Regions from separate parts of the Homo sapiens genome. Here region 2 is linked to region 1. The links are contacts of gene promoters, found by promoter capture Hi-C in blood cells and fetal thymus (Javierre and others, 2016). All regions are on one chromosome and are shown on one strand. The core of a region is centred on a gene start or on the middle of the fragment in contact, and the rest is flanking DNA. Distances in the headings are between cores, read along the strand shown. Region 1 holds the start of MED17 (mediator complex subunit 17). Region 2 overlaps NAALAD2 (N-acetylated alpha-linked acidic dipeptidase 2).

Region 1 (7,359 bases), core at 1,068-3,567:
ATACTAGGGAAGCTGAAGTGGGAGAATCGTTTTGAATCCAGGAGGCAGGGGTTGCAGTGAGCCGAGATTGCACCACTGCACTCCAGCCTGGCCGACAGAGCAAGACTCCATCTCAAAAAAAAAAACAAAACAAACCAAAAAAAGTTAAAATTAAATGTTGGCACATATTAAACTGCCAAATTGTCTTTCAGAATCACTACCAGTTCACATTCCTAACCCTGAATATTAACAATCTTTTCAATTTCTGTCAATTTTGTGCATGGAAAGAGTATCTTAATCATGTTTTAATTTCCCAGTCCCTAGTAATGAGATTGAGTCTATGTTCTGTTTATTGGTATCTGAAGTCTCTCCTCTATGAGCCTTCAGATACCTTTGGCCTATTTTTCCAAAGTGTCATTATTTTCTTTTCAGTCTGAAGGGACTTTTTGAATAGAGAAGATATCAACTAAATTTGTGTTATATGTGTAGAACTTCTCCCAGTCTGTCATTTATCTTTTTACTTTGCTTATGGCATCTTTTCCCATTATTTTTAAATTTTATGTAAGTAATATATCTATACTTTGTAAGGTAGGTAGGTGTGTGGTTGTGTGTGTGGATGTTAGAGTCTTGTTCTGTTACCCAGGCTGGAGTGCGGTGGCACAATCATAGCTCACTGCAGCCTTGATCTCACTGGCTGAATCCATCCTCCTCCCTCAGCCTCCCCAGTAGCTGGGACCACAGACGTGCACCACCACGCCCAGCTAATTTTTTTAATTTGTAGAGGCAGGAGCTCCCTATGTTGCTCAGGCTGGTCTTGAAGTCTGGGCTCAAGTGATCCTTCCACCTTGGCCTCCAAAAATGTTGGAACTACAGGTGTGAGCCACCATGCCTGTCCTGTTATTTCCGAAATTAAGAAGATCTATCCGACTCCCAGAATAATACAACTATTCTTTCATTATTTCTTCTAACACTTTGTTTTACTTTCTTCATTTGGCACTTCAATCCTCAAAAATTACTGTGGAAATAATTTTTGTGTGAGGTATAAAGTAGTATTTACCTTTTTTTGCAAATAGACCCCTAATAATCCTAACAGCACTGCCCTGAAATGACATCTTTAAATTCCCATTTACACTGGGTGTGCTGCATAACTAAATTAAGAATTTTGATTTTTTTTTCAAAAATCCTTGACAATAATGAGAATCTGAAACCCACTCATTATTTCTTCACTTCCCTCCTAGTCTCCTCCCTTCCAGTTTTGCTTTCCCTATAATTCATTTATTAGAAAGCATCTAGAGTAAACTTTAACAAAACCATCTCTACTTATCCTGCAAAAGCTTTCAGTGGTCTTAACACTAGTCAAACGCTTATCCCGGCCTACTGGGTTCTACATGATCTGGACCCGCCTACCTCTTGGACCTCGTCACACATTTCAGTCAAAACAGACCTCTTTTCTGCAGGTGCTACTATCATCATTCACACCGCACAAGGATGCAAAGTAACTCGCCCAAGGTCACACAGCCGGCAAGGGGCAGAGCCCCGATCTAGGGCTCTTTTAGCCACTAAGTGTGCTACATTAAAGGCCCTCTACAGAGAAGCATTCATTTAAACATTTCACGGTTTGACAGTGTCTCTAAACGCTGCCATTCAAGGAGACCCGCAGGAGTATTACGTAAAGTCGTGTCCTACCTTGTCCGGCAGCAACAAAAAGATGACGACCAAGTATCCTTACGCTTCCGCTAGAGGGACACTCAAAAGTTCTCGCACGCACAAGATCACCCCCATCGCGGGAGAGGCGGAGGCCCGCGCGGGTGCTGGGACCCAGACCGGGGGACTCGGGCAGCGGATGCAGGCCTTACCTTCCTCGTCGTCCTGGTCTGCGCTGGACCCGGCGCCCGGCCACTCCTGCGCGTCGCCCTCGGTCCCCGCCGCCTCCTCCTCCTCGGAGCCCGAACCCTGGCTGAAGTCTATCCGCTGGGCCAGACGCGCCAGATTCTGCGACATGGACAGCGGGGGCAGGTACGTCTCGGTGCCATCCAGGCCCACCTCATGGACCTGCTTCTCGCAGGCCGATTCGATGCTGATCCGCACTGCGCGCACCCCGGACATGCTGGCTGCGTCGGCCAGCGGTGGGAGGACCCCCCACGAGCCAAAAAACGAGGTACGAAGAGGAGGCTTCCCTGCGGAGAGCCGGGAACTCAGAAGCCCGCAGCCGCGGTGCCTCAGAAGACCCTCGGGAAACCGAACGCAACGCTCAGACTGGAAACAAAGGAGCTGGCCCAGCAACTTTCCCAGAACGCACCGCAAGCTCCCTCCTCGGTAAGTCTTTCGGAGCAAAACTGGGCAGGCGCGGAAGCTCCAGGGTTCCCTAGAGCGCTTCCGGTGAATCACGGTGCAGGGTGGGGTAAACTTCCGGGCCTATAAGAGGCGTGGCCGGCAGAGGGAGGGAAAGAGCGGTTTGGGAGCCGAGAGTGTGGCGGGTATATTCCTTGCTTTTTAAGCCTGCGTTTGTTTAAAAAGTGGATGAGGAAAGAAAGCTGCAGAGGCTAGAAGAGTTAAGGAAAAGGAAATTAATGGATCCTTGGATCTTAGCAATGAGAGTCCTGTTGAGAGAACTGAGATCTGGTGGCGCGCGCCTGTGGTCCAGCTACGCGGGTGGCTGAGGCGGGAGAATGGCTTGAGCCCTGGAGATGGAGGCTGCAGTGAGCCGAGATCTCACCGCTGCATTCCAGCCTAAGCAACAGAGTGGGATCCTGCCTCAAAACAAAAGTTATTTTAAATTAGCAAGAAATTTTTTAAAGAAACACTATCTGAAGAGTTAGAAATTAAGGGCATGGCTTGGGGGAAACAATCGTGCTTATCACCACTTAAAATTATACTACGTAATTATTTGGTTTCCTGTTAGTTATAACTCTATGACAGCCAATATCTGCAGCAGACATAATAGACTCTGGCATGTAGTAAGTGCTTAATATTTATTTTATGCCCGAGTAACAGAATAAATAATGTTGATCTCGCTTTTTTATTAGTGATGGGGTCCCACTATGTTGCCCAGGCTGAGTGCAGAGGTTATTCACAAGTGCTGTCAGCACGCTACAGCCTGGAGCTCCTGGGCTCCAACGATGCTCCTGCCTTAGCCTCCTGAGGAGCTGGGACTATAGGAGCGTGTCACCATGCCTGGCCTGCAAATAATATTTAAAAGATTAAGAAGAAGTGGTATAACTTCAGTCTTTGGGTCTCCAAGAACGTATTTCATTAGTAGGAATTCCACAGACAAAGATGGATTATTTTATATTACAAACCTCTATATTTCGTTTAAGGAATTATATATACCGTTTATCATGAGTGTTTGCCAGGTTTTGTTCTGACCAAGATATATCTAGGTTTTGAACTACTTTCCTAAGGTATTTAGGAAAATACGGTTGCCCTGGTGTCAGTCCCTGCTGAAGAAGAAAGTAGATGGCCGTGTGTGGAGGGGGTTGAATTTTCATGAGAGAAACCTATTTCTGGCAAGCTGTACAGTCTGTCGCCCAATCATGTTCGAGAACCACTGTACTTGCTTTTCGTGTAAATTTGTTTAAAAATTTTTTTTAACTTTATTTTAAAATCTGATTAATAGCCAGGCGCAGTGGCAGTCTAATAGTGCAGACAAAAACAAGACAACAACAAATGATTATGATTCCTAGAATAAGCAAAGCTTTTGCCACCAAGTCTTCAAGATCAAAACTAGCTGCTTAGCCAGTTGTTTAAAGATGTGTTGGATCTGAAAGGTTAGTTGTTAAGGTTTTCATATTATCCATTAACGTAGTGATATTATCTGATTCATCTGGGATACAGACATAACACACAGTTTTTATGATAATGCAAGTTCCTCCCTGGGCTTCGGTGAGTATGTCAAAAGCCATACGGTTTTGTAATAATGGCCTTTTCCATAAGAATAACTATTGTTTAATAATGGAATACTTATGTAGCTATCTTTTGGGTATAATTGGTTAGGACCTCTATATGCCAAATAACATCTTCAACACTCAGTTGTGGTATGAAGATGGAAGCTAAGTGATCATACCAATGAAACACAGGATGAACCCAATGAGATCATAAATAAGGAAAATTTGCAGGTTTTGGCAAAGTACAAACTACTCAAATATATGATTAAGCATAACCTGAAAAACATCATCCTAACTATCCTGGAAGTAACCATGGTCATAGGTTAGTGCCACATAGCCAAAATGTTCCATTTGGAGCTAATCAATAAATACATTAAATGGCATGCCAGTCAGTACTTTGTAATATAATGGTGTGAATACACAGTTCTTTGGGTATCCATGCCATATCTCCAGTGCTTTTGGGCCAGATATCTTTGGTATGATTTCTTTGTTCCCAACATAAAGGGGCAAAGTGGCCAGGCACGGTGGCTCACGCCTGTAATCCTCCACTTTGGGAGAATGAGGCGGGTGGATCACCTGAGGTCAGGAGTTCGAGACTAGCCTGGCCAACATGACGAAACCTCGTCTCTACTAAAAATACAAAAACTAGCTGGGCGTGGTGATGCATGCCTGTAATCCCAGGTACTCAGAAGGCTGAGGCAGGAGAATCACTTGAACCCAGGAGGCAGAGATTACAGTGAGCCAAGATCTCACCACTGCACTCCAGGCTGGGCAACAGAGTAAGACTCTGTCTCAAAAAAAATAAATAAATAAAAAGTTGGGGTGGCAAGGACAAGGTGGCTGGGCTGACAGAAGGAGGGATAAGCCAGATAAAACCATCCCCAATTTGTGTTATACCATTCTGAAATCAAGGTGTCTTATCTCTTAATTGGAACAGTGTCGTTGTTTCATTACTTAGTTGGGACAGTGCCAGCATTAAAGTTAACAAACTAGTTTCTTTTACTAAGAAGCTCCTTCCATGGCTTTTACTCTGTAAAGGTTTTGTTTCGTTTTGTTTTGTTTTGTTTTTGTTTTGTTTTTTGAGATGGAGTTTTGCTCTGTCACCCAGGCTGGAGTGCAGTGGTGCGATCTTGGCTCATTGCAACCTCCGCCTCCTAGGTTCAAGTGATTCTCCTGCCTTAGCCTCCCGAGTAGCTGGGACTACAGGTGCACACCACCACGACTGATTAATTTTTGTGTTTTTAGTCGAGACAGGGTCTCACTTTGCTGGCCAGGCTGGTCTCAAACTCCTGAGCTCAGTCGATCTGCCCGCCTTGGCTTCCCAAAGTGCAAGGATTACAGGTGTGAACTACTGCGCCCAGCCTTTAAAGTATTATTAATAGGCTAGTGATGTACTTTATCCTTCATCATACTACTGTCAAGCACCATGACTGTTTTTAAGAAACACAAATATATTTCTGATATTCTATGCAATATCTTCTCTCCTTGGAGCAATATATTTCTTTCCTTGGAGAGAAGATACCCACCAGGAAAGCCAGAACTACTGGAAAGGGGCATGAGACCACATGTTCAATCAGCATTTTTTTAAATAATCTATTAGCATAGTCCTAAGCCCATTGCAAAAAGAGGTTTGCTTTATGGGCAACAGTTAATGATAGTAGTGCCGAGACATGAAAACTAAGGACAAAAAGAAAGAAGTTTAATGGGAGCTTGTAAAGGAAAGTCTTCCCCATGTATTAACATTTGCTAATATTAAGCATTTGTTTAGATACAGGCCTGGTTTGGAGTCTTGGGTTTTAGCCACCTACATCAGATGTTATCTTGTTCTAGACCTGTCATTGACTTATTTTGAAACAGAGATCACCTTCTGGGGAAACAGTCCCTCAGGAGATGGAGCCCTCTTCAGATCCAGACATGGATCCAGGAGTCTATTCTAGTTTCTGTTTTTTGTTTTTTTGAGATGGAGTCTCATTCTGTCACCCAGGCTGGAGTGCAGTGATGCAATCTCAGCTCACCGCAACCTGTGCCTCCAGGGTTCAAGTGATTCTCCTGCCTCAGCATCCCCAGTAGCTGGGATTACAGGCAGGTGCCCACCATCACACCCGGCTAATTTTTGTATTTTTAGTAGAGATGGGGTCGCGCCATCTTGCCCAGGTTGGTGAACTCCTGAGCTCAGGCGATCCATCCACCTTGGCCTCCCAAAGTGCTGGGATTACAGTCATGAGCCACCACACCCGGCCAGGAGTCTATTCCTTCTAATATAATAGCAAAAGGATTACTAAGAAGCACTTGGTAAGAGCCCTTCCACTTGGTTGGAGACAGTCCTTTAGAGGATGTTGTTCCCAGTAGATACAGTCTCCTGGATGAAAATTGTGGGTCTTGAATTTTTCATATCCCAAGAGCCCATTAGGAAATAATCTTTCACTAGGTAATAATTTTTAGTTAATTATCTCATAAGGTTAGAACAACAAAGGAATATATCTCCTCTTACAGTTAAGGAGTTACCATTTCCTGGGACAGATTCATAGCTATGTGAGTTATTATTTCAAATGGGTACAACTGATGTATTCCAAAGGGGTTGATCTTGGGTTAAGCAAAGCCAATAGAAGCCTTTGGCCATGGGATCTTAAAAATTTGTGTTATTGGCCAGGCAAAGTGACTCACGACTGTAATCCCAGCACTTTGGGAGGCTGAGGTGGGCGGATCACAAGGTCAGGAGTTCGAGACCAGCCTGGCCAATATGGTGAAACCCCCTTTTCTACTAAAAATACAAAAATTAGCTGGGCGTGGTAGTGAGCACCATTCCCATTCACAATTGCTTCAAAGAGAATAAAATACCTAGGAATCCAACTGACAAGAGATGTGAAGGACCTCTTCAAGGAGAACTACAAACCACTGCTCAACAAAATAAAAGAGGACACAAACAAATGGAAGAACATTTCATGCTCATGGATAGGAAGAATCAATATAGTGAAAATGGCCATACTGCCCAAGGTAATTTATAGATTCGATGCAATCCCCATCAAGCTACCAATGACTTTCTTCACAGAATTGGAAAAAACTACTTTAAAGTTCATATGGAACCAAAAAAGAGCCCTCATTGCCAAGTCAATCCTAAGCCAAAAGAACAAAGCTGGAGGCATCACACTACCTGACTTCAAACTATACTACAAGGCTACAGCAACCAAAACAGCATGGTACTGGTACCAAAACAGAGATATAAACCAATGGAACAGAACAGAGGCCTCAGAAATAATACCACATATCTACAACCATCTGATCTGTGACAAACCTGACAAAAACAAGCAATGGGGAAAGGATTCCCTATTTAACCAATGGTGCTGGGAAAACTGGCTAGCCATATGTAGAAAGCTGAAACTGGATCCCTTCCTTACACCTTATACAAAAATTAATTCAAGATGGATTAAATACTTAAATGTTAGACCTAAAACCATAAAAACCCTAGAAGAAAACCTAGGCAATACCATTCAGGACA
Region 2 (7,087 bases), core at 4,588-7,087, 3.6 Mb after region 1:
TCTCAGTTTTAGCAAGTTAGGGAAGATATCACATTACAGGAGAAAGACAATCTAAAAGTTTTTGAAGTTTTAATGGATTTAACCACTTGTAAAATGTTATAAATTGTAGGACACTTCTCCCAGAGAGATCCTCTAGCATACATGGATGATTTACTTTTCATATTTATGATTTGGCAGGAAAGTTTGAGTTCATTTGAAGTTAGGCTTTTTAATAGTTTTTCTCCTCCCAGTGAATTTTTCTGAGTTGATAGGTGTAAAATTTATAGATTTTATTGATAATAAAAGTTTGTAAGCATCTTTAATGTAGCGATTCCATTGCTTATTTTTTATTCAGCACTCAGGTCACTTCCTATGTGCTGGAGATAATTAAAGACTCCACTTCCAAGAAAGGATACAACAAGGAAAATAAGAGGTTGTTAAATAAAAATTATGCCAAAGATAAGCCTGTAGAAAGCTTCTGTGGTGCGTATTTGGTAGATTTTATGGATGGATTTCGTGAAGGATAAATAGCAGAGTCCTGAGGGGGGAAAAAAGGATAGAAGTGGCCAAATACAAGAGAGGAAATGGGAGAAAGAATAGGATATGAAGAAGCCTGGCATTGAGAGGTGGTATTGGCCTGTTAAGAAAACTTGTTTGCCTAGCCCCTAAGTTCTAGTCTCACTCAGTATTGGGTTTAGGGCTCCTCTAGATTCTAGTACATCATGATAGATCATGCAGTCAGTAAAAGTCCTGCTGATTTTCCCCAGTAAAGTGCTTTAGTCCACACAAAGCCTGATCTTTAATCCATGCCTAGAATTGGCAAATGATGCCAGGAAAGAAAACAGTTGGTAGTCTCAGCTATGTAGAAAAGACAAAGACTTTTAGTACATCTAGTCTTAAGCGCTTCCACAGCTCTTTCGTATCTGTAATGTATTTTGCATTTGATCCATTTTTTCCTAGTTACTGCACCTGGGAGCGACTGCCAGTACTACCACATCATTTCGGTAGTGGAGGTCCCCATTGAAGGTTTTTTTCATAGCACATAGCATGATCACGTCTAGGAAGATCGTTCTGGCTGTAGATAGTATAATTATCTACTAATACAAAGGGGGAAAGGACGTGAGATGATGTGAAAGGAAGTTTTGCATCATTTACTTGAAAGATACTGTTCTTCTGAATTTAATCACATTGGGGATTGGAAAAAGTAGATGAATAAAAATTAAAAAGAAAAAAACAAATGAGTTCATGAAGTTAAGCAATTAAAGAAAAAGACAAATCTAATACAGTACTGTAATTATTTCAAAGGTTACTATTTTACCCTAAACTCATTTCTATACTTGAAAGTTCAAGGATCGATTGATATTTTTGAAATTCTGAACTAAATGGAAATATTAAGATGGCTCATGTGTGCATATATAAATGTTATTTGTATCCTCAGAATAAACTAATAAATTTCAAGGGTACAAAATAGGATTACTATTTGTGAACTGTATTGTATCCCAGAACTCTGTACTTTTGTCTGTTCAAAATGAAAACAGTAGTTATTATATTATTTTAACCCTTATAAAAGGGAATATGATGTAAAAAATTTTAGCAATTCAGTACAGAGTACAAGTCACATAAAAGTCTACCACCGAAATGCAAGCACTATTTGTATTTTGTTTGATATTCATATATTTAGTTTTATCACTTTTTTTAACCAGTAAGTCATGGACAACTTACTATATAAGTGAAAAATGTATATATGATCATTGTATGATCATTTTTATATTATACTATAATCAATTCTCCATTGATATTTAGCTTGTGATTTTTTTTTTTTACTATTTTTTACTGTGATAAAAAATGCTGTGGTAAACACCTTTGTGTCACATACATTGTCATTCTGTCCAGTTTTCTCTATAGAAACCAATTTTTAGAATTTCTTGGTTAAAGTATATACATTTCACGTGCTTTTTTACTAGTTTTTATATTAGACAACTTCTGATTAAACATTTAGTTTAAATGATTAAAAGTATGGCATTACAATAAGAATTTATGGCTTATTTGATTTTAAAAGTAGGTCTTAAAACAGGCAATATACTGTGACAAGCAAAATATTTCCATGTCATTATTTCGTAAGTATCCTTAAGAGGAACAGTATCTCTCTCAGGACTTGGACCAAGGAATGAGATCAAAGGGGAATAATGATTAGCAGCTTAATTCAGCTGATCTCAAATGCTTAGGGGAAAAGTTTTTTTAAAAAGTTCAAACATATGCCCTATTTAACATGTGATAACACATATTCTATATTAAATATCCTGAATTGATTATAGTGCATGCCACACAATCACTTGTTCTGTTGCTAACAATCAGATATTGATTAAAAATGATTAAAAAAAACAAGAATTAAAGGAAAAATTAAATTGCAATAATTACTATTTTACTCCAAACTCATATTTCAGACCAAATATGCTGTTCTGGCAGCTCGCATTTGTCTTCAGGAAAACTACCAGTAGGAAGAACACCCAAGACATTTCTAAACCTTTGTGCTTTGTCTCCTTTAGAAATGATAGAGTTGGAGGGAACTGATGCCCAGAGATACGTAGTGATCTACTCAGTTGGGTAGTAGATAGTATGATTCATGGGTCTTAATGCAGTATATTTTCTACAACACAGTGCTTCAAGGCAAAAGTTAAAGTGTTATACTTTGGTAGTGTAGCGTGGTAGTAAAGTTAACTCCCTTTTACAAAAGTCTTAATTGTGTATATTTATACTTCATAAATAGCACACCTTATTGCCTCTTTAAGCAGAAGGAATGGAACATATTTAAAAGTTACCTTGATGACAGAGTCATTGCTATACTTGCAACTTATTTTATTGTGGGGGATCAGTGAAATACCCTCTAGTAATACTGAGATGTATAGAAAATGCCCCTAAACTAAATGCCCCCACTGTTTTAAGTTAAACTGTATTGTTGGCCTGGGAGCAAGGGTAATGGGTAGTTTTTCCTTGTAGTTAAGCTTTGAGCTGTCATTTCTTATTTTAGTTATTGTACTTGCCTATGAAGGCTCTTCTAATTTTTAATTCTTAACTCGTTTTGGTGAAGTAGATGAACAACCAAGTTTATTGAAGCTTTAATCATAGTTGAACATGTAATTGAGTCACTGGGATCTGCATAAAAGTTTGCAGATTCTGATATACAGTCTTTATAGGAGTTAGAATATGAAGATTGTAGTAGCTATTTTCATCACCCATCAGACTTATATGTTTATTCAGTAGAGCTGAAATTATTAAATGTATGAATATTACTGGCTTTTTCCTGACCATTCACACTTCATGGTGATTTCACAAGAGAAGGTATATGATTCTGGTTTCCTTGCAGACTTGTTTTTTATAATCACGTTTATTGAGGCTTAATTTTCATACAATAAATTTTATATATATTTTAAGTTTACAATTTGCCACTCAGATCAAGATACGGAAAATTCTCATCTATTGGAGAAAGTTTCCTCATACTTCTTTGCAGCCATCCTCCCCAACCTGCCACTTGGCCCAGGCAATCACTAATCTAATTTTTAACACTACAGATTAGTTTGCCACTTCATCTAAATAGAAACATATTTTATGTAGTTGTTTGTCTGGCTTTTTTCCTTCAACAATGTCTGCCAATAATATTGCATTTATTGAAAGTTACTTCATTTTTATTGCTGAGTAGTAAGTAGTCTATTGTGTAATGGATACCACAGTTTATACATTCGTCTGTGGATGGACATTTGGGGTTTTTACGCTTTTAAGTTGCAATGAACATGCATACAAGTATTGCTGTGATCATTGTTTTTCCTTCTCTTGAATAAATAACTAGAAGTGGAATTCTGGAGTCCTAAAGTAAAAGTGTATGTTTAACTTTATAGGAAACTGCCAAACTGTTTTCAAAAGTGATTTTACCATTTTACATTCCCACACTCACAATGTCTGAGAATTCATGTTCCTTGCTATAATTTAGGGAATTTTCTTTTACTTTCTGCCACACAGGAGTTTTTTACTTCATTAGATTAACACTTTGCTAATATAATTATTAACTTTTAAAGAGCAAAAAAAAAAGGCTTTGCAGATGAAAAGACCAAAGCCTATAATCAAAACATGACATGAAAAGAGTTTAGAACACCCTGGCTTCATAAGTTATCAGAAAGGTGAATTTTATCCTCAGACTTTTAGCAACACCTTTAATGGCTAGCCACTTGAGACCTTCTATAATACTTCTTTCAGAGTTCCTGCTGCTGCTTGAATTGTAAAAGCTGCAATAGAAATATGTTTCTTTACTTCTTTCCAGGCCAAACGAGAGTTGGCTTTATTTTCAATATCAAAGATAGCATCATAGATTCCAGGAAATGATTCTCCAGCATATTTGTTGTGGCTACTTGGAGCAAATATGATGTGCCTAAAAGGAAGAAAACAAGGCAAATTGAACTAAAGTGTATACATGCATTTTGCATGCTTTTTGTTTAGACCACATGATGTTTCCTTGTGATACTCACTTTTGTTCCTATAATAAGAAGACAGTTGATCTGAGATACTTATGCGAATCATAATTTCAAGCCAGGAAAGAAGCTAACAATATGCATTCGCTAAGACATATCTCAGGAATCATATACCATGTTGCGAACCCAAAGCAGATGGAAGAAAGCAGGTTCTTTTAAGTTGTGCAGAATAATTGCTCAGCGTCCCGTAAGCATCCACAAATATGGTGATAACATGTAAGTTTATGGATGTTTTTAGTAAGAGGAGATTGAGAAAGATAATTTATTTTTGTGTTGCCTTTTAAAAATAGATTAAACAAGAATGACAGTTGTTCCCAATACTTTTTAGACATTAAAAAACAAGTAATTAAAGAAGCCTGTATTTCAAAGTGTTACAAATGGCAAGGATAATGACGTCCATTCCACAAAGGTAAGACAGTTATATGTGGGTTGCCCGCAAAGACACTCAACTTTTGATCTAAAAAGAAAGTTTTATAGTTGCTTTTCTACTTCAACATAAGTAGCTCAAGGGATCAAGCTACTTTCCGCAATAATGACGTAGAATTTTGCTTTCCAGAAAGGGATGTATTTTATTAATACATCAGGAATTAGGTCCAACAGTCAAACCCCAAAGCTTATTCTAGAGTAAATCTGTATGAAGCAATATAGAGCTCCATATAAGTCAGTATTAATGATTAATGATTAATGACAAATCTATAACACTCATCATTCAGATTTACCAAAGTACATCAGGATTTATTATCTTGGCTTTTAAATCTTAATATGGCCTCAGATGGATTTTTTTAAAATTAAAATCAGTTTATGTGCTAAGTTGTTTATAAGCATTGGTATCCTGACCTGTATATGAGTCAAGAAATTAGAGATGCAAGTCATAGATATTCCTTAGTATACTTACCCTCTTCTGGAGAATTGTAAAGGAAGAATATAGCAAAAAAAATTTGATATAGGAAGCGAATAACCTTTGAATCATTGATATGGCATTTAATATCTCAGTGACCTTTGGCAAATTGCCTAAGTTGTCTAAATTTGTCCCAGATTTGTAAAATAATTGAAATAATGTAGACTCTGCTTAGAGTAGTGACTGAGCAGGTTGTAGACTGAGACTGCCTGTTTTTTAAAAATCAGAATACTAGCATATTTACTATCAACAGAATACTATCAACTATCAGCCTTGTGGCCTTGCACTGGTTATTTAACCTCCCTGTGCCTGTTATCTTAAAAATGATGGTGATAAAAGTACTGTTCTAAAAGAATTGTGAGAATCAAATGTTGGATGAAAAGCATAGCTTGACATTTAATAGGTGTTCAGTAAATATTAGCTATTCTGAAACTAAATCCTTTCCCTAATTTTCTCAGATAAGAAGCAGGCAGCAAGCTAAAAGAAATGATCAGACAATTGGTAATGCTTAAGCAACTCAAATACCCTTTTATGAAATGGTGGACTCAAATAGCTATTCTAGTCCCATAAGAATTCAAACTCTGGTCTAGTTCTCAAGGTTTCAAGTATATGATGATTTAATTACCCTCCACAATGGACATTTCTGAATTTTTAAGAGGCATCAAGAACTACTGAGCAGACTAGAGAATATGGTCAACACTTCATAGTCTTTTTTCCTCAACCTTCCCCTCAGTACATAGTAAGTATTCACTGATGAGTTGTGATAATGCAAAATTTCTTTTTTTTTTTTGAGATAGAGTCTCGTTCTGTCGGCCCAGGCTGGAGTGCAGTGGCATGATCTCGGCTCACTGCAACCTCCACCTCCTGGGCTCAAGCAATTCTCCTGCCTCAGCCTCCCGAGTAGCTGGAATTACAGGTGCCTACCACCACGCCTGGCTAATTTTTGTATTTTTAGTAGAGATGGGGTTTCACCATGTTGGCCAGGCTGGTCTTAAACTCCTGACCTCAGGTAATCCACCCGCCTTAACCTCCCAAAGTGCTGGGATTACAGGCGTGAGCCACCATGCCCGGCCACAAATGTTTCTAGAATTTCATAATTAAATGCTTTGCAGCTTTTAAAGACTTTTACAGTATTTCACTTGATGTTTGCAAAAAAGGAAGCTTTATTTAATCCTTTTTAGATTCCATTACAGAGTGTGTTCATTTTATATTGCTGCTGTGCAAATTACCACCAACTTAGTGGCTTAAAAAAATTTATTATCTTACAGTTGGTCTGACATAAGTCTCACCAAGCTAAAATCAAGGTATGATCAGGGTCACATTCCTTCCTGGAGGCACTAGAGGAGAATCCTTTTCCTTGCTTTTCTAGCTTCTAGAGGCCTACCACATTCCTCCACCATCAAAATCCGCAACTGCATTTTAGATGAGTCTTTTCGCAATGGCATCACCCTAACTTTCTCTCCTGCCTGCCTCTTACAGGAAGACTTTTAAGGACCCTTGTGACTGCATCATTGGGACCACCAGTATAATTCAGAATACTGTCCCTATTTTAACTCAGCTGATTAGTGTGACTCATCCATCTGCCACCTTAATTCCTCTTTGTCATGTAACCTAACATATTCAAAGGTTCTGGGGTTAGAAAATAGAGATCTTTGGGAGGCCATTATTATGCTTACCACACAGAGCAATT

The links. The method cuts DNA at HindIII sites, captures the fragments that hold promoters and counts their contacts. A CHiCAGO score of 5 or more calls a contact.
Region 2: a contact is called between a fragment that was not itself captured here and the fragment with the promoter of MED17 in region 1, in 1 of 17 cell types (total CD4 T cells). The highest score is 6.3, in total CD4 T cells.

The regions. Positions count from the first base shown.
Region 1 is chr11:93,779,240-93,786,598 of GRCh38, reverse strand. MED17 (mediator complex subunit 17) reads right to left here and starts at 2,317. Exons shown (of 12, transcript NM_004268.5): 1 at 1,836-2,317. The coding sequence starts at 2,085. RefSeq lists enhancers at 1-32, 2,041-2,260, 2,202-2,496 and silencers at 1,585-1,779, 1,781-1,910. The HindIII fragment of the contact is 2,360 bases long and covers 1,316-3,675 here.
Region 2 is chr11:90,188,870-90,195,956 of GRCh38, reverse strand. NAALAD2 (N-acetylated alpha-linked acidic dipeptidase 2) reads right to left here. Exons shown (of 19, transcript NM_005467.4): 19 at 3,063-4,399. The coding sequence ends at 4,210. Among named protein-coding and RNA genes, the nearest start is that of CHORDC1, 31 kb to the left of the region's middle. The HindIII fragment of the contact is 1,446 bases long and covers 5,115-6,560 here.